Regions from separate parts of the Homo sapiens genome. Here all the other regions are linked to region 2. The links are contacts of gene promoters, found by promoter capture Hi-C in blood cells and fetal thymus (Javierre and others, 2016). All regions are on one chromosome and are shown on one strand. The core of a region is centred on a gene start or on the middle of the fragment in contact, and the rest is flanking DNA. Distances in the headings are between cores, read along the strand shown.

What was found. The method cuts DNA at HindIII sites, captures the fragments that hold promoters and counts their contacts. A CHiCAGO score of 5 or more calls a contact.
Region 1: a fragment that was not itself captured here is called in contact with the fragment with the promoter of COL9A1 in region 2 in 1 of 17 cell types (endothelial precursors); the score reaches 5.3 in endothelial precursors.
Region 3: a fragment that was not itself captured here is called in contact with the fragment with the promoter of COL9A1 in region 2 in 3 of 17 cell types (M2 macrophages, endothelial precursors and naive CD8 T cells); the score reaches 5.6 in M2 macrophages.
Region 4: a fragment that was not itself captured here is called in contact with the fragment with the promoter of COL9A1 in region 2 in 1 of 17 cell types (M2 macrophages); the score reaches 7.3 in M2 macrophages.
Region 5: a fragment that was not itself captured here is called in contact with the fragment with the promoter of COL9A1 in region 2 in 5 of 17 cell types (endothelial precursors, M2 macrophages, M1 macrophages and 2 more); the score reaches 9.6 in endothelial precursors.
Region 6: a fragment that was not itself captured here is called in contact with the fragment with the promoter of COL9A1 in region 2 in 1 of 17 cell types (endothelial precursors); the score reaches 5.3 in endothelial precursors.

What each region holds. Positions count from the first base shown.
Region 1 is chr6:70,905,146-70,908,123 of GRCh38, forward strand. The region is part of intron 1 of B3GAT2 (beta-1,3-glucuronyltransferase 2); the gene reads right to left. LOC105377850 (a long non-coding RNA gene) reads left to right here. Exons shown (of 5, transcript XR_001744196.2): 5 at 1-85. Among named protein-coding and RNA genes, the nearest start is that of B3GAT2, 50 kb to the right of the region's middle. The HindIII fragment of the contact is 695 bases long and covers 1,272-1,966 here.
Region 2 is chr6:70,301,578-70,304,585 of GRCh38, forward strand. It overlaps COL9A1 (collagen type IX alpha 1 chain), which reads right to left and starts at 1,507. Exons shown (of 38, transcript NM_001851.6): 1 at 1,334-1,507; 2 at 424-497. The coding sequence starts at 1,347. The HindIII fragment of the contact is 4,602 bases long and covers 1-1,795 here.
Region 3 is chr6:70,962,437-70,965,312 of GRCh38, forward strand. No RefSeq gene overlaps it. Among named protein-coding and RNA genes, the nearest start is that of B3GAT2, 6.8 kb to the left of the region's middle. The HindIII fragment of the contact is 2,992 bases long and covers 119-2,876 here.
Region 4 is chr6:71,039,110-71,041,870 of GRCh38, forward strand. No RefSeq gene overlaps it. Among named protein-coding and RNA genes, the nearest start is that of B3GAT2, 83 kb to the left of the region's middle. The HindIII fragment of the contact is 2,445 bases long and covers 170-2,614 here.
Region 5 is chr6:70,993,411-70,996,248 of GRCh38, forward strand. No RefSeq gene overlaps it. Among named protein-coding and RNA genes, the nearest start is that of B3GAT2, 38 kb to the left of the region's middle. The HindIII fragment of the contact is 2,623 bases long and covers 165-2,787 here.
Region 6 is chr6:70,932,901-70,935,876 of GRCh38, forward strand. The region is part of intron 1 of B3GAT2 (beta-1,3-glucuronyltransferase 2); the gene reads right to left. Among named protein-coding and RNA genes, the nearest start is that of B3GAT2, 23 kb to the right of the region's middle. The HindIII fragment of the contact is 380 bases long and covers 1,390-1,769 here.

The sequences.
Region 1 (2,978 bases), core at 369-2,868, 600 kb after region 2:
GTTTCCAGGAAAGCAGCAACTGCTGTAGAATAGAACCACAGCTAGGAGTATAATTATTGTGTATAGTGGTGTAATTATGATGATGCTGCTGAGGAAACGCAAGAGTTACTGCTTTGGAAGTCCCCCTAACCACAGGAGCCACCAATGTTAAAATGCATTCCTTCTGGAAAAGTCAAATGAGCTTTGTCTATTTCACTATCCCTTGCATAGATCTGTATACTTCAGTAAAATGTGATGTTTATTGAAAATACAAATATAATTGCCAATGACTATGTTAATCTTTATCTGGATATCAAAAGGAAAACTTAATACAAAATTAAATTATACTTAGGTTTGCACAAAACTGCTGCAGATTAGCATGTCTAATGTACTCCGATAACCTACGTTTTTGCCCCTTTTAAAATTGGATTATTTGCTACATATATTCCCCAAAATGGGTTTCAAGGGTCCCGAGTTCTTTAATGGCAGACAGCATGTTGCTCGCCTCTGTGGCAGTGTGTCCAACAGGTAACAGAAGGTTTGTGTAGCTGTATAGTCCACTTGGCATGGGGATCTGCAGCTTTTTGTAACATAGGATAGCTGGTATCATTATCCACTAGTCTTTTCATGTAATAGGCAAACTCAGATACAAAGGAGCTACTCTACATCTCAAAAAAGGAATAAATTAACATAACTGACTTGAAAGCATAATAATACTTTTTCTTCTTAAAAAAATATGGTCCCGGAATGTCTCCTGGCACTGTGTGTGTGTGTGTGTGTATGTGTGTGTGTGTGCAGTGTGTGTAGAGAGAGAGGGACTGGGGCATGTATTGGATTGTTCAACTATTTATCTTCACTACATAAAAGGGAGCTGAGTTCACTACAGGAATGGTTGCCTTGGCCACACTCAATCTATTTTCCCAAATGAGTTCTAACCCAAAGACCTCTGCTCTAGTTTACTTAATACCATGATAATGTGAGGAAATTTAAACTGCTTCATTTCTCTTTCTTAATTTTTCCACACGAAAACCAACGATCTATCTCCTATTCTTCTCACGGAGAATGGGGGAAAAGAAGTCTCTAAAGCACTTAGACATTCTTAAAAGATGTTATTAACCATGCAGTTTCAAAATTAGGTACTATTCCAGCACATTACAGTGATCGTACACCCCTATACTCTACCACGACCACACACATACCTAGAGCATTCTCTCATAGCAATTTTTTTTTAAGACAGAGTCTCACTCTGTCACCCAGACTGGAGTTCAGTGGCATGATCACAGCTCACTGCAAGCTTGACCTCCTCCTGGGCTCAAGCAATCCTCCTGCCTCAGCCTCCCAGCTAGCTGGGGACTGCAGGCGTGCACCACCACTCTCAGCTAATTTTTTATTTTTTGTAGATACAGGGCTTTACTAGATTTCCCAGGCTGGTCTCAAACTCCTGGGCTCAAGCAATCCTCCTGCCTTGGCCACCTAAAGTGCTGATTATAGGCATGAGCCACTGCACCCAGCCTTATAGCAAGTTTTGAGAAAAGCACACACTCCTACTTTTTCCTCATGCAAGGAAATGTAACCTCTCTTTTCACAGAAATGAAATACAGTATTCTTTGCTTTCTTATTCTTTAATCCGATCCCCTGCTCCACTTAAGATCCTTCCACCTCTGGGTTTCTCAGTCTCTAATTAACATCTAATACTGCTTGAAAAAAGAATTTAAGGCAATTACACAGACACATAGATAAAAGAAAACTGAACAAAGGTGAGTGAAAAATCAATGACAATCCTATACACAAGCAACTATCATGGAAACAGCATTACAATAGCAAAAGAAAATATGCAATGCTAGGCATCAACTTACTGAGAATGGTGCAGGAACATGATGAAAACCACAAACTTTACCATGAAACCTCAGCGAGTCCAGGGATGGGCTATAGCAGATACTGTTCGTTGCCTACTCAACATCTACTTTCTTCTCTTCCTTATTGGCTAAGCTTCATTTTGGTTCAAATGGTAACCAGCCCTTCCCCCACATGACTGCCAAGAGGGTGATGGTCTCTCAATGCCAGGGATAAATCTTGAGTTGTCAGTGATTAGTTTGGGCCTGGCAGTCCTGGCCATCAGAGGAAGTGTGCTGGGCTGCTTCTGGGAAAAGTGCCCTCACTCCTAAGGATGGTCCCTTTCTGTCCCAGCACATTGCCATGTCTGGTTGTGATGGCTGAACTACAGCAGCCACCTTGCAACCAGGAAGAGAACCAGCCTGAAGACAAAGCTGACATTGTGAGGACGGCAGGGTGGAGAGCATTGGAAAGACTTCAGGACGGTGATGACACCACTGAGTCACTAAGTCATCCATCCCTAAAACCTGCTGTATATCTGGACTTCCTGTTATGGAATGTGGCTTCTTGCTCAACACTTTTCCTCTTCCTAAGTTCACAGGAAGACTCCATGTTTCTGCATCCTTTGCAGTTAGGATGGGGTCATATGACTGATGACGGATTTATGCACACTGGAGCATGGGCAAAATTCATATAAGTCAATTTCCAGCCTGGTCCTTAAAAACAATCTATGTGATCCACCAGTCCTCTTCCCTTGCAGGGGTGACTTTACAAGTCATGTGTTGCTTATAAAGCGACATATCTGAGTCACTAACTGCCCAGGAGAGTCACCAACCCCTGGCAAACTTTGTGAGACCAAGCAATAAGCTTTTACTGTATCAAGCCTCTCAGTAGTCAGGGTTTGCCTCTGCAGCTGCCAATATTTAGTTATTCTGCTAATATAGTGAGATAATATATGTGCTTAGCGTTGAAGCCAGTTTGAGTTGGGGTTTTTGTCACCTGTACCCAAAAGCTTCCTATTTGGCACACTTTCCATTCTGTTGGACCAGAAGTTTCAACAATATACAAGATTCTTCATATTAATGCCCAAACCTTGCTGACAATATCTCCCTGGCATGTAGCTATTCTGGGCTGTTGGTTTGGTGCAAGGCCATAAAAACTTTAAC
Region 2 (3,008 bases), core at 257-2,756:
AAAAAATAAAAATATAAATATAAAAAAGCATGGGCCTAACCATAATGGTACATCAAACATGCTCTTTATACTCTCCTCACCCCAAATTGTTGAGGTCCATCCATCCATCAGTCTATTTATTCATTCATCCATGTATTCACCCAACATTTACCAATCACCATCTGTACTAGGCACTGCACTAGGCACTGCAGCTCACAGATTGGCCTTCCTACCAACTGTGATTACTGACAGGACTTACTTTCCATACCCAGCATTGACCATGGAAAACCAGAACCTAATGTATCCCTGTGCCCCAAAGCTGGATTGAAGAGTGAGGGTGTGAAGGACTATGAATGCCTCACTCAGTCTTCAGTCAGCCACAGCCCTGCCTGATCATTTCTGGGAATAAGTGATCTTTGAAAGTCTAGAAACTATGGCCCTTACTGGGGCGACGCTTGACAGCTGCAGATGCCCAGGGTTCCAGGAAACTGCACACAAAGAAGAAAACTGGAATTTTCCTGAAGAAGAGAGAAGAAAAATGACTGAAACAGGAGTCCCCGCAGATGGAAAACACTTCCATATTTTCAAACCTAGTAAACCTAATTAATGTAAGGTGATCAAATCACAGTATAGTTTTTTTTTCATTTCTTTTTTTTTTTTTTTTTTTTTTTGAGACGGAGTCTCGCTCTGTCACCCAGGCTGGAGTGCAATGGCGCGATCTCGGCTCTTTGCAACCTCCACCTCCTGGGTTCAAACGATTCTCCTGCCTCAGCCTCCTGAGTAACTGGGATTACAGGCACGTGCCACCACACCCAGTTACTTTTTCTATTTTTAGTGGAGACAGGGTTTCACCATGGTGGTCAGTCTGGTCTTGAACTCCTGACCTCGTGATTCGCCCGCCTCGGCCTCCCAAAGTGCTGGGATTACAAGCATAAGCCACCGCACCCAGCCTTCATTTTTACTTTGAAACCCTACTGAGAGATGTAAGGAACTCATGTTTCCAGACCCCACTGTCGTTGTTGTTTTATTGATCTCACCTTCTCGGTATCTACCTATCTCACTGTTTTGGTACCTATTTCTTTGTCTCTGGTTTCTTTCACCTTTGATTTCCTTCCTCTCTTTTTCTGTGGCCGTCACTTTCTCTCCCTTCCTCTGTCTGTCTTCGGTTTTTTGTGTCTGTCTTCGGTTTCTCACGCTTGCCCTCTTGTCTTACTCTCTCATCCGTCTCTCTTTCTGTCTCTCACCTTGAGGCTCACCTACTCTCATCTTACCACTGCTGCAAAAATACAGACCCTTGGTTCTGAGGACCCCCAGCTCCATCTCCCCACCACTCTTTCCAGGGTTATTGTCTTACCAGCAGGTCTTCATTTTCCCAGTTGATTTTCTTTGTTTGCCAACAGTCCCTATGAAGAAGGGGTTGGAAGGGAGTCACTGTCCCCTCACGACCCCTTCACTGTTACCCTAGGACTATGTGTTCTGGGCCCAGCCTTGGTCCCTCCTGCCCCCGGTGAGGGCTAAAAGCAAAGGGAGAGAACCAGAGGCATCTCGTGACACTTTAAACTGAAGCAAAGGAAAGGGGTGGGGAGAAGCAGCGCTCTGAGCCCAGGCCTAGGGGTGTGTCCTCAAAGCTAACAAGGTTATACTGAAGGAGGGATTTACAGGGGAAAGTTTGCTGAAAAGAAAAAAATAAAATCAGGATGTGGGGAAATTCACCAGAAAGATCCAGGCAAGGTGCTATAGGAACACAGTAGATGCTTTTAGATCTGCTATAGGAGTACAATGGCAGCTTTCAGAACTGCTATAGGAATACAGTGGAAGCTTTCAGAGGGCTGAGGTTCCAGTAAAAATGTGCCCACTGGGAGGCAGAGGTGTGGAAACTCGTGGGAGCCTTGGTGCCCGATCAACCTAAGTTTCAATCCCTGTTTATTCTGAAGCTTACTAGCTGTGTGTCCTTGAGAGAGTTACTTCACCTTTCTGTAACTAGATGCCCTAACTGTAAAACAGATTGAAAATGCTTACATTAAAACAATGGTTTTGAGAATTAAATGAGGTATCAAAGGCAGAGGGTCTAACACCCAACAATCATTATTTGTCATCGTCTTCATAGCTAACGCTTCATTATGCACCTCCGTCTGTTGAAAATGCTCAAAGCTTAATGCCATTTAATTCTCACAACAACATTATAAGGTAAGACTGAAGTTACCCTTATTCTCCAAATAAGAAAGTTGAGGAAGCAGAAAATGAAGTAACTTTTTCAAAGTGCCATGCCTATTACTAAATACACATTCCCTCTCTCTACCTCATGGATAGAAATCCTGATAAAATGTAACATCAAGCCCCCTACTTGTTGTTTATTCTTAAACTCTGAGACTACCAGAGTTGAGCAGAGGACACTGTATCTGGAAAGAAGCAACATATTATCCTCCGTTAACAAGGTGAGAGCAAATTACAAGGAGCACAAACCTAGAGAGAGGCATGTTATCAGCATCGCTACCACACATGCCATGCCGTCTCTCCAGAACCTGAGCACCTAAAGAGAATTCCCTATAGCCCCCACATCACCCCCGTTACCACCCACTCAGCATGGCCAACCTCTGGCCTTGTCTTGAGGGACACGGGTGGTTACTCCAAAAACCAAGACTCTAAAGGTCAGAAGATCCAATGATCTCAAAAATCACAGTACAAGCAAAGTAATTTTTAGGTGAACTTTTTTTTTTTAAGAGACAGGGTCTCAGGTCTCGCTCTGTCCCCCAAGCTGGAGTACAGTGGCATAATCATAGCTCACTACAGCCTTGAACTTCTGGGCTCAGGGGATTCTCCCACCTCAGCCTCCTGAGTAACTGGGATGATAGTCATGCACCACTGCACCTGGCTTCTTGAAATTTTTAAATTTCGTTTTCTAATTGATTTAATTTTTATTTAATTACAAAACAATAGCGTTGCTTCTTATTTTTCATTTGTTTATTTCTTTTCCAAAAAAGTCCTTTCAGTTTCTGCCTCCCCCAGCTCACTGATGAAATGTAAATCAG
Region 3 (2,876 bases), core at 365-2,864, 660 kb after region 2:
GATAGGAACTTGTGCATAATGATAGGATGAAACCAACAGGTGTTTGTGTGCACACGCATGCATGGGAACAAAGGAATAGGTGAAGAACACTGAGTACAGAACTCATCAGCTTCCTCAAAGCTTCAAAGTGAAACATTGATGGGTGGGATTTCAAATCCAGACTCTATGGTATGATTGACGGTACTCGAGAGGCCTAAGCAGTACTCGAGAGGCCTAAGCAGGCAACAGGCTTGACGGAGGAGACTAAAGAGAAGGCTTACTAAGTGAATACTGTCTTCCGTAACTGACATAACTTTCTGCCACGGGAAAACCTCCTTTCCCAGTAAATACTAGTTGAATCATCTAACCCCACTCTATGGCTTTTAAGGCCAGTGTAGTGCCAGTTGGGGTTTTGCCCAGATGTGTCACCCCCAACAGATTGGTACTGGCCACCGTAAGCCATATTGGTGGCCGTGGGCTCAGGCATCTCTGCAGCCAGATCAGAAACTGCTGTCACCATGCCTTTCCTCCACAAGAAGATAGTAGAAGCATTTACAGTCATTTTATCATGAAGCCATTTTACTATTTTAGATGAAATTTAAAAATTAATGTAGCTTTTCATCACATCTATCTGTAATTCACTCAAGGATACATCTTGATCAAGGATACAACCCCTGGGCAGGGTATAGTGGCTCACACCTGTAATTGAGGCCAGGAGTTTGACACCAGCCTAGGTAAATAGGAAGACCCTCTATCTACAAAACAAAACAAAACAAAACAAAACAAAACAAAACTAGCTGGGTGTGTTGGGGCATGGCTGTAGTCCCAGCTATTTGGGGGGCTGAGACAGGAGGATCGCTTGAGCCCAGGAGTTTGAGGCTATAATGAAATATGTGAAATATGATGGCATCACTGCACTCCAGCCTGGGTGACAGAGACCCTGTCTCAAGACAGTTTTTCTGTATGAAGATTGGTGAGGGTACAAATTTTAAAAATAAACTTTAGCGAAAGCAGGGTCTGCATCCAAACCATCTATGTTTACTTAAATAAAGATGTTCTTTCCAAATGGCTGTTGGTTTAGTTGGATGCCTTTTCTTGGATATGTTGAGTACAAATATTGGGAGCAAACAATATGAATATGGGGAGTGGGTATAAGATAAAGGCCATAGAAAGTTCCAGTTACTGACTAGCTCTTGGACAAGTCTCAGATCTCTGGTCTTCAGTTTTCTTGTATGTAGAATGAATGAGTGTAGGTGGTTTCTTGGTAAACTCCATAGGAAATGTACTTTGAATATTTTTCCAGTTCTGTTGATGGGTTTGCATTACACTATTAATATCATATTGTGTTACCAAATCTTATAACCAGTTGCATATTATCTAGTAGCTGCAGACATAATTAAAGAAGGTTTGTGTATCTTCATAAACAAGAAAGTATCTCCTGTCCACTCTCTCAAAAGTAAATCTAGTTCCTGTAGGTAAACACATGTTATATGAGCAACCTACCTCCAAAATATAATAATTAAAATAATGGAACATTGTCAATGTTTTAAGTTCCATTTTTGTCTAAATGTGGTAGTTCAGTGGCTTGAATTAATTTTTTTATTATTTTTATAACAGGTGCATTTATGAGCCTGCAGGTGGACCATTGAAATGACTACATTTATTAATTTCTGCTTCTTGAGTGCCAAGTTAAGTATGACTTGGCTTAGGCACATATTTGGTGTTCTATGTGAAATATAAATCTCTTAAAGTTAAAAGGGGGGTTGTTCCTTTATTCCTCTATCAATTTATAGCCCCAGCCTAGGAATTTAACCACACAAAGAGAAGGGTGGGATGCTTAATTTTATGTGTCAGCTTGACTGGGTTAAGGGATGCCCAGAAAAGGAGCCCATTAAGAAAGTTTGGTTCTGAAGCAGAAATAGCACGAGGTCTGAAAAATTGAGTCCATTATTTTTAAAGAAAAGTGCTTGGAATTCTACTCAAATAAAATGCAATTAAGCTAGCAAAATCATCATTCCCAAACTATAGTATGATTTCTAACAGTCACATTATAGCTAACCAAAAACAAAAGCCCTCAAATTCCAGATGAAATTCATATTCTAATATAACGTCCAGCAGCTAGGCCTCAGGGTGTCACTCTATATGGTCTGGTAGGCCTTGATTACTTAGAAAGTGGTGGTAATAAAACATAGAAACCTAAGTGTGCAAACGCTGTCCACCTGACATAGTTATTACAGTCTTTAGAAGTTACTTGAGATCCAGGTCAGTCTTGTCAAGAGAGTGGCAACATGGTACCTGGGAAAAAGAGTTGCATTGGAATCAGGAGACCTGAGTCCATATCCTAGGTATCCACTCACTGGTTACCTATCTAAACTTGTTTCCTCACCTGTCAAATAAATATAATGCTCCTATAACTAAGAGACACTGTATATGAATGATCATGAACCAGGGTCTGTTCAATGCACTGAACATACTTTAAAATACAATAACCCTGAAAAGTAGGTAGAGTAAGAAACTTTTCTAAGGTCACACAGCCAGTTAAATGTCAGAGACAGAATTTGAATCCAATCCTATTTTTTTATTCCAAAGCCAACATTCTTGCCACTATAACTGTCTTCCACAAATGTGAAAGAGTTGAATAGATAATAGATCTCTAAACATAAGTGACTTCGGCATTTAAAGTTGTTGTAATTAAATGAGTTGATACATGTAAAATCCTTAGAACAATAATCTATTAGTGCATTCTCATGCTGCTATGAAGAAATACATGAGACCTGGTAATTTATAAAGGAGAGAGGTTTAATTGACTCACATTTATGCATGGCCGGGGAGGCCTCAGGAAACTTAACAATCATGACAGAACAGGAAGCAAACATGTTCTTCTTCACATGGTTGCA
Region 4 (2,761 bases), core at 142-2,641, 740 kb after region 2:
GCAGGGTGATTACTTCCTTGGGAAAAATCCAGGCACTTCTGAGTGCCAGGAAATAAAGAGCATATTCATTAAGTGATTGAGGATGGAGGAGTATTGGTTAACATGTAATGTGATATACAAGTTAATGTAACGCACAGCAGCACTTAAAAACTCTGACCAGCTCATGTTAAGCTTGATGATGTAATGATAACAATGCAGTTTCTGGATGTCGCATGTGTGCCCAGGTGGTAGGAGTGCTGCAGTATAGCTCAGTAGTATCTAGCTCCTGGGCTTCCTGGAGAAAGTTGAGCTGTATAGCTACCTCGGTAATTTTAGTAATGGGCTAATTTTAGTTAGATTGTAAATATTAAATTTTAGGAATCTTCAATAACTGATTTAGCAAGTTACTGTTAAGTAATTTTAGGAGTATATAAAAATGAAGGTCTGTGGAATTGCTTGTCAGTTTTTTGTCTTAGAATTAAAGCAAGGACCTGCAGTAGGGAAACGATTTGAAGACTCTCAGGAGGTCTTTTGTAATTCACAGGAATTCTCCAGACTGATATTCTCTCATTAATTTTCATTCTGTTGCTTTGGTACTTAACCAGTTACAAGTCACAAAATTGTGTTTATGCCTATTCCTCATTTCTCCATCTTGTCCACAAATATGTCATGAGAGACTTGGTTAAGGTTTCCCTAGGCACCACTGGCTTAAGCCAATGTATTAATAACAACTAATATTTATTAATCACTTTACATGGATAATTCTCAATTAATCTTCTGAACACCCCTATTAGGAAGGCAGTTTGACTATCTCCATCTTATGGATGAATAAAACTTGTGCACATCAGAACTAATAAGCAGAGGAGCAGGGATTCAGTCCCAGTCAGAAGGACTCCAGAAACCTGTAGCCCACGCTGCTGAATAGCTAAGTTAATAGCTAATAGTCAAGTTAACAGGTTTGTCCACAAATCTAAGGGAGTAAAAATGAGTCTGTGGGTCTTCACAACATTGACAGAAGAAAAGGCACTCTGTTTTCTTAAGCTGAAGGGCACCCAATTTGAGCTTCATGCACCAGCGCTGATTGCTCCATTGTCTGCAGCTTGGCTCAGCAGCTGCATAGCTCCTTGGGCTGTGGTGGCTCCTGCAGTCTCTGCCTGTGCTGCTTCTCTCCCTGCAGTGTGGTTGGCATCCTGATCCCTGTGTGCCCCAAGGCCAGGGCACTGGTACTGACATCCCCATTCTGTAAGACTCCTGCAGCATCTCCTCTGAGCTGGGAGAGTGGGGCACCCTCCTGGGTTCACATGGTCTCTTCTTCACAAAGGGAGTTGTTCTTATCCTCCTTTCCTCCAGGGCTAAGGTTTCTCTTGTCTTCCCTGCCACTTCCACTTGTACTAGTTGCCGGGAGAGGTGTCAGAGCCCTGGTATTGGGAAGTGGTTGACGCGCAGGTTGGTAAAAAGAATTTACCGACAACAGAATAGGTTTGAAAAGGAAAGTTATTAGAAAGGAAGAATGCTGCAAGAGGGTGCAGTAGAGCGCTTTGGCAAGAGGACTGAATGCACCGCAGTGGATTTTTCCTTAGTGGTATTTATGGACCTTAAGGCAGGAGCTTAGGGTTGTAAAATGAGTTTCAGCGTGACATTCCAGAGATGTATAGAAATTTTAGTTACTTTTAAACTAAAAGTTGAAAGAGGCCTGGAACCACATGCTGACTTTAGAAACTAGGGAAATTTGATTGCTTCTAAATTCCCAGATAAGGAGTTTTGCCTCTGGATGGTCTGTTTGATGGTCACCAGGTGGTCTTTGTTCCCTTCTAAATTCCCAGATAAGGAGTTTTGCCTCCAGATGATCTGTTTGATGGTCACCAGGTGGTCTTGGCTCTCCTCACTAGTGTCCCTCTTGTCCCTGACTTTCTTAGTTCCTATTTCTCTTTGCTCTTTACCCCACACTTAGATTCATCCGTCCTGTCTCTGGGGACCCTTGTAATTACACAGATACAAGATTTGTTCTATATATTCTTTCCTTATCAGTCTAGTAACCCAATTTGCACAGGACATATGGCCAGCCAGTTTACACTTGTTCTTATTATGACTCCGTACTACTTCCTAGCCATTTGGACTTCCTTTCCTAAGCCTTCCCAAATCATCTATTTACAGTTTATAGGACAAATGTCTACAGTTTATAGGATAAATGTCTGCAGTTTATAGGATTTCCAGTTTTGACAAAAATTAAATCAATATTTGCCTATATTCAGGCGTCCAGCCAGGGAGTGAATCAAGGACTTCACCTGCAGGTGTTGCCACTTTCTGGGATGTAATTAATTAAGGTCCAAGACTTAACCCCATCTAGAGAAGGTAGCGTTATAGGTAGTTAGGCATGAGTGGGGCAGGAGAGGGCTCTCTCCCTCACCCACTAGAAATGTTGGGTGATGGTTGGGCAATTATTGCTTTGCCTCTCTAAAAATAATAATTCAGCAGCACAAGGGAGAGGCCATTTCCTGATGGTCCACGCCTATCAACATCAAAACATTAATTGAATGCAGTCCCAGGGAGAAGCAACTTCCTGGGCATCCTGTTAAGAGACAAAAATGGTGAAGTATAATCTTCTGGGGGCACACTCCACTGAAAAAGGGAAGAAAGCTTCAGATGGTGATGCGTATAGCTCCCTAAACACATGGCGTGTGCTCAATTCCAGAGGGTAAGGAAAGCACTGGGCATGCAGAAAGCCCACCTTAGAGAAAGATGTGAACCCCCAAAATTTGAGACAGGTCTCAGTGAATTTAGA
Region 5 (2,838 bases), core at 226-2,725, 690 kb after region 2:
GGGCTACATCACATTTATTTCAATTGAATAATGATATTGAACACTTAGCACTTGCTGAGTACCTTCCTCTTGAATATCACATTTTTATTTTTAAAGATGGAATTGAATTTTAGTTATTTCCAAGAGTACCCAAAGTCAATTCTTGTGCATATAGTTAATAATCAAGCTTGGGCAATTTTTTTTAGTCACTAAAAATCTTTTTTAGTCACACACATGCACACACAAGTATATATGCACTGTCTGACCACAATGAGACAAACTTTTGTGCCTTTCAAATTTTTTCTAAAGGCATTTCCAAAAATATTTTGAGCTTCAGCAGCACGATCTATCCTCTCCATGATGCCTACTTTGAAGGGTCTAAAATTCAATTGCATACATACATTCTGGTTTGTGGAGAAAAAAATCAATCTTATGCCTCCTATTACACCTATAGCTTACCTTTGTTACCAAAACACCAGGGGTTCGGTCTAGGGGTGCTCACACATAGAAAGCCAATCACTGAGTTAACAAGTATTGCCAGGGAAGAAGGCTTTAGTAAGGTGCTGCAGCTGAGGAAATGGAGATCAGTCTCAAATCCATCTTCCTGAATGACTAAAATTGGGGTTTATCTAGCAGGGAAGAAATGTAACCATGTATGGGAAAACAGGAATTAGAGGCGGCTAAGAAGAGAAGTTGGTCAACAGGAGGCAGGTGGGTGAGGGGTCTGCCACCTGTCTGGCATGACATTGTTCAGATGCAGTGATCTGGTGTGTTTCAGTTCCTTGATATTATCTGGAAAGCCTGATGGTTGGTTTTCTGAGAAAGGAATTCAGATAAGACAATTGTACCTTTCTCAAGTTTTAAGACTGGGAGGATCAATTTTTATGTTTATTCAGATAAACCATAAACATCAGTTCTATGGGACAATTAAGCTGGTTTTACCTTGAAGATAACTTTGAGTTCACATTTATGATGCCACAGAAGACTCAAGGGCCAGAGTCACTGTAATGTGGGCTTGTCATAGCTAGTCAGCCTTCATTTTTGAAATCACATTACAGTTGAAAAATTGGGGATGATGTTATAATAGTATAAATAAGAAATAAATGAATCTTTCTGCTTTGGCATAAAAGTGAGAGATCAAACTGTGTCAGAATTTTATTTCATTTTTTCCTGTGGCTGCTGTATTTCTATGTAAGAGAGTCATTAAGTCCAGTGAACTCTCAAGGAGAGGGGAATTAAGCTCTACTGCTTGAAGGGAAAAGTATACAAATTTTTTAAATGTGTTTTTAATTACTACAGGTAGTGGCAGTGGTGTCAGGAGCTGGCCAGCTTTTTCTTGTTTCCCTAATGGAAAGTTGAGGGTGGATCTCTGTGTTTCTGGACCCTGAAATTCCAAGGTCATAGGTAGACTGGTGGCAGTATTTCTAGAGGCTGGCCCTACAGAGTCGTGGATGAAGAACTGTATTCTTTATGTTGCTCAAGCTGGCCTCAAATTCCTGGGCTCAAAGGATCCTCCTCCCTCAGCCTCCTGAGTAGCTGGGACAACAAGCATGTGCCACCCACTGCACCCCACTCTATTTTATTTTTGAGAAGGGTTGCTAAGAAAGAATTTGAATGAGAAAGAAGAAACTCACATAGCTCTAGGCTGTCCACTGATGTTATAAAGTACTTTCATTCCCAGAGACACACCTTCTTGTGTTCTCTCTGAATGCTCCCTTTTTTATATTAAACCATTGCCCTACACAGTCAAGCTGCTAATTTCTACCCTTAAACACTCGAAATTGCCAGTTAATCAAGTTAAATCCTTGGTCACAGAGAAGCTACTTTATCTTAGTGTTTGACTGAAAATTTATCTGCATTTCAATAATACTGCATGTCACATTGAATAAAAATAGCACTTTTAAAAACGCCTTCTTCAAAGTAGTAGGTTGTCTAGCAGTCTAGTTTTTAGCAGTGAAACTTAGAATGACTTGCTTGGCAGTGGCTTCTGGAGAGCAGTTTCTTCGTGGGTTAAATGAAGATAAGAATATCTTCCTGACCTATCTCAAAAGTTTAATATGGGGCTCATAAGAGATAATAAGTGAGTTAAATATAAAATGCTACAAAATTTGCAAATGGTGAGTTGGAAATAGCTTTAGATGTCCAAACTCTCCATTTTAAACATAGAAAGTGACACCCAGAAAAGTGTCAAGAAAAACAGGGACAAGTGCCAGGAATTTCCTGAACTGGCTGCATTGATGAATGCCAACACAACTTTCACATTTTCACATTTCCAGCTGGAAGTAGCTGAGAGACATGAAGAACCAATAATTATGTGAGTCTTCCTAGTTCATACACAGATATTCTACAAAGTCATTGTTGTTAAATTCACTTACAAAAAATAGAATAGTCTTTAATTAAAAAAAATAAAGGCCATAATAAAATAATATTGCCATAGTTTTCTTACCTTTAGTGTCTTCATGCAATACCTGTAGTGTTCTTTGCTCCATTTTTTGAGCCCATCCTTGAAATTTCTTTTTATATTGTCATTGTACTTCTTCAACCATTGTATTGCTTTAACCAGAGAAGTATGGCCTGGTGGAATGCAGGCATTGTTACTATCTCTTGACATATAACATTTTCTAATACAGATTTCATAGATTTGGAATAGTTGAACTTTTCTGCTAAGTTACATCTTTACATTGACTCTACTCCTTAGTTTTGGTGCTCATTCCTGTGAGTACTTCGGTTATGTAACATTTTTCTCTGACATGGAAATCAGCAAACAGGCATGCTATGGCCAAAGGTAAAGCATCACAATAATGAAGAAGCTTACATAAAGGGAACATTGATGAATGCAGCAGCATGTGTTTGTGATTA
Region 6 (2,976 bases), core at 330-2,829, 630 kb after region 2:
AAACAATCCTCCCACCTCAGCCTCTCAAGTAGCTGAGGGTACAGGCACATGCCACCACTCACAACTATTTAAAAATTTTTGTAGAGTTGGGGTCTCATGATGTTACCCAAGCTGGTCTCGAACTCCTGGGCTAAGCCATCCTCCTGCCTGAGCCTCCCAAAGTGCTGGGATTATAAGTGTGAGCCACCATGACTAGCTGCCATGTACTTTTAAATGTCACTAGATTTACAAGAGCCAATCAAATGAACATCTATATATTTTAAACTATAGGACAATCAACCAATTTTCAGAGGAACAGCTGGGATTGCTGTAAAACAGAAACTGCAAGCACTGTCAACCTACCCTCTTAACCTTTTTGTTTTTTAAATCCTAAAACAAAGGGGAAAAGCAAGACCAGAAAACATAAAAACCCCAAAACCTGTCTTATCAGTATACAAAGCAGGAAGCAAAGGTAGAGGCAAATAGTTAAATTCATTAAAGAAGAATGAAAAAAATTAAAATAAATTTTCATTAATGAAAAATGAAAATAATTAACAGTTAGTGCATGAGCCCCAAATACTCTGATGACTGTCATCAGAACTTTTCTGCAGAGCAAGGCTGCAGCTCCTCTGATAGAAAAGACTTCCCAAGAATGTCTCTAGCACTCTTGCCAGTGTGAACAGATGTAGCTGAGGAACTTATCAAAGTTATAAAAATCTTCCCAAACTGTCACTTGACCTTTAAAAATGATACTGGCATTTTCATCTTGCAATGCCAAGTTTATTTAGATGTAAAACAACACGTCCATATATGGACCATACGTAAATCTGCATTCCCATCAGCCAACAGAGCAGCACCTTGGGGCCGCTATGACTGTCAGGATTGGTACAGCCACAGTAGCTAGGTGGCTTTGTGACATCTTGTCTTCTGGAGCCTTCCACAGCTCCTGTTGCCCCAGACTTCTGAGAGACGTACAAATAGAGAGTGAAGTTACTCTGTTTACCCACTTTACGTACCTATTACCTCGTTTAATTCTCAGAACCATATGTATTATTATCAGGTCCTATGAGGGAGCTGGATATCAGGGCTTTTCCTCATTTGTAAAGCAGATGATGAAAATTAAACAGCAGCTCATGCACACATCTGAATGCCAAGGGTGGGACCCAGAACGCAGTAAAAAATGAAAAAAGCACTAGTCAGTTCCCTTGAGGTCATGGGAGCCTTTGGCTCAGTCAGGCCTAGAGGCCCCATCTTCCAAGTCCTTATACTCTTTCAACCAAAAGAGCAGTTTTTCAGACTGGGAGTGCATGATACCTGAATGCATACAACTCTCCATGGAATATGTGAATGCAGATAACTTTAAGTTAGGGAATAAATTCCCAGACCCTTGGCATCCCTACATACGGCATAAGCTTTCCTAAAACTGATCCACTTGGATAGGGGCAGGTTCTCCATGCTTCTCTCTCGCTCTGCCCCCCACCCCCGCCCCACCCCACTTCACATCACCCTTCTCCCACTTCACAAAGGGCCTGACTGCTCACCCATCCTGTATTGTTATTAAATGCACTGTCCCACCTAATATAACCTCCAGGGCACCAAACAAAGGTAATCAGAAATATTGCTATCTTTATTAAGAAAGCCAATGTCTCTAATGAATGGGTAATAAATCCTTTGGGGCAACCAGAGGTTTCTAACTATTTGCATTCAACAAAACTGGAGGTGACCTAATATCATTAATAAATCATTAAAATAGTTTTTGCTGTCAGATCACCATGTAATTTTTGGCTTAAAGCTTGAGAGTTCAAAAAACTGAGAAACACTGCTGTAAGAAAATGATTCCCACCTTAATTACTTCTTTACGTAAAAAAAAGTTGACCTAATAGGAATGAAATTTATACTAAATTCTATCTCTAGCAATCTGTAATATTTGTCAATACAGAATATATAATCAACAACAAAATGCTCCATCCATGTCACTAAGAAATCTAATAAATGTAGCTTTTATGTTTAATAGTTAATTACCCAACCCTGTAACATTTATTGTTGTTTTGATTAATTGTTTACCAATACTAATTGTAATGGTAAGTCAGTCCTGAAGCTTTTCTAAGACAGAGGCTGATAGCCACAGGATTATAAAACTTTAAATTCTATCTATATTCTTTTTGTCATTGTAGATATGTGTAATAGGGAGATGACTTTGAACCTCAAAATATTATGCTAAGATAAAATTCTGAGGAGGAATGAAGATAGAAAAAAAAAAGAGCAATATAAAATATCCAAACGTGGCCAGGTGTGGTGGCTCACACCAGTAATACCAGTACTTTGGAAAGATGAGGCGGTAGGACTGCTTGAAGCCAGGAGCTTGAGACCAGCCAGGGAAACATAGGAGGACCCTGTCTCTACCAAAAAAAAATAAAAATAAAAATTAGCCAGGTATGGTGGCATGTGCCTGTAGTCCCAGCTACTCAGGAGGGTGAGGCAGGAGAATTGCTTGACCCAGGGAGGTGGAGGCTGCAGTAAGCTGTGATCGCACCACTACACTCCAGTCTGGGCAACAGAGAGAGACCCTGTCTCACTTAAAAATATATATATGTGTATATATATATCTCCATCCAAATGTCATTGAAAAGTATGTTTATTAAATGAATGGTGGTGGGTATCAAACTGTTAACAATATTTATAGATCTACTGGATATATTTAAATTTCATTACAAATGTCAACATTTATAATGCACTGGAAATCAAAAGTTTTGCAACAGTTTAAAATGATTTTTAAAATGTAAGTGAAGGAGAAATAAAATACTCTACAGACAAGCAAATGCTGAGAGAATTTGTCACCACCAGGCCTGCCTTACAAGAGCTCCTGAAGGAAGCACTAAACATGGAAAGGCACAACCGGTACCAGCCACTGCAAAATCATGCCAAAACGTAAAGACCATCAAGGCTAGGAAGAAACTGCATCAACTAACGAGCAAAATAACCAGCTAACATCATAAT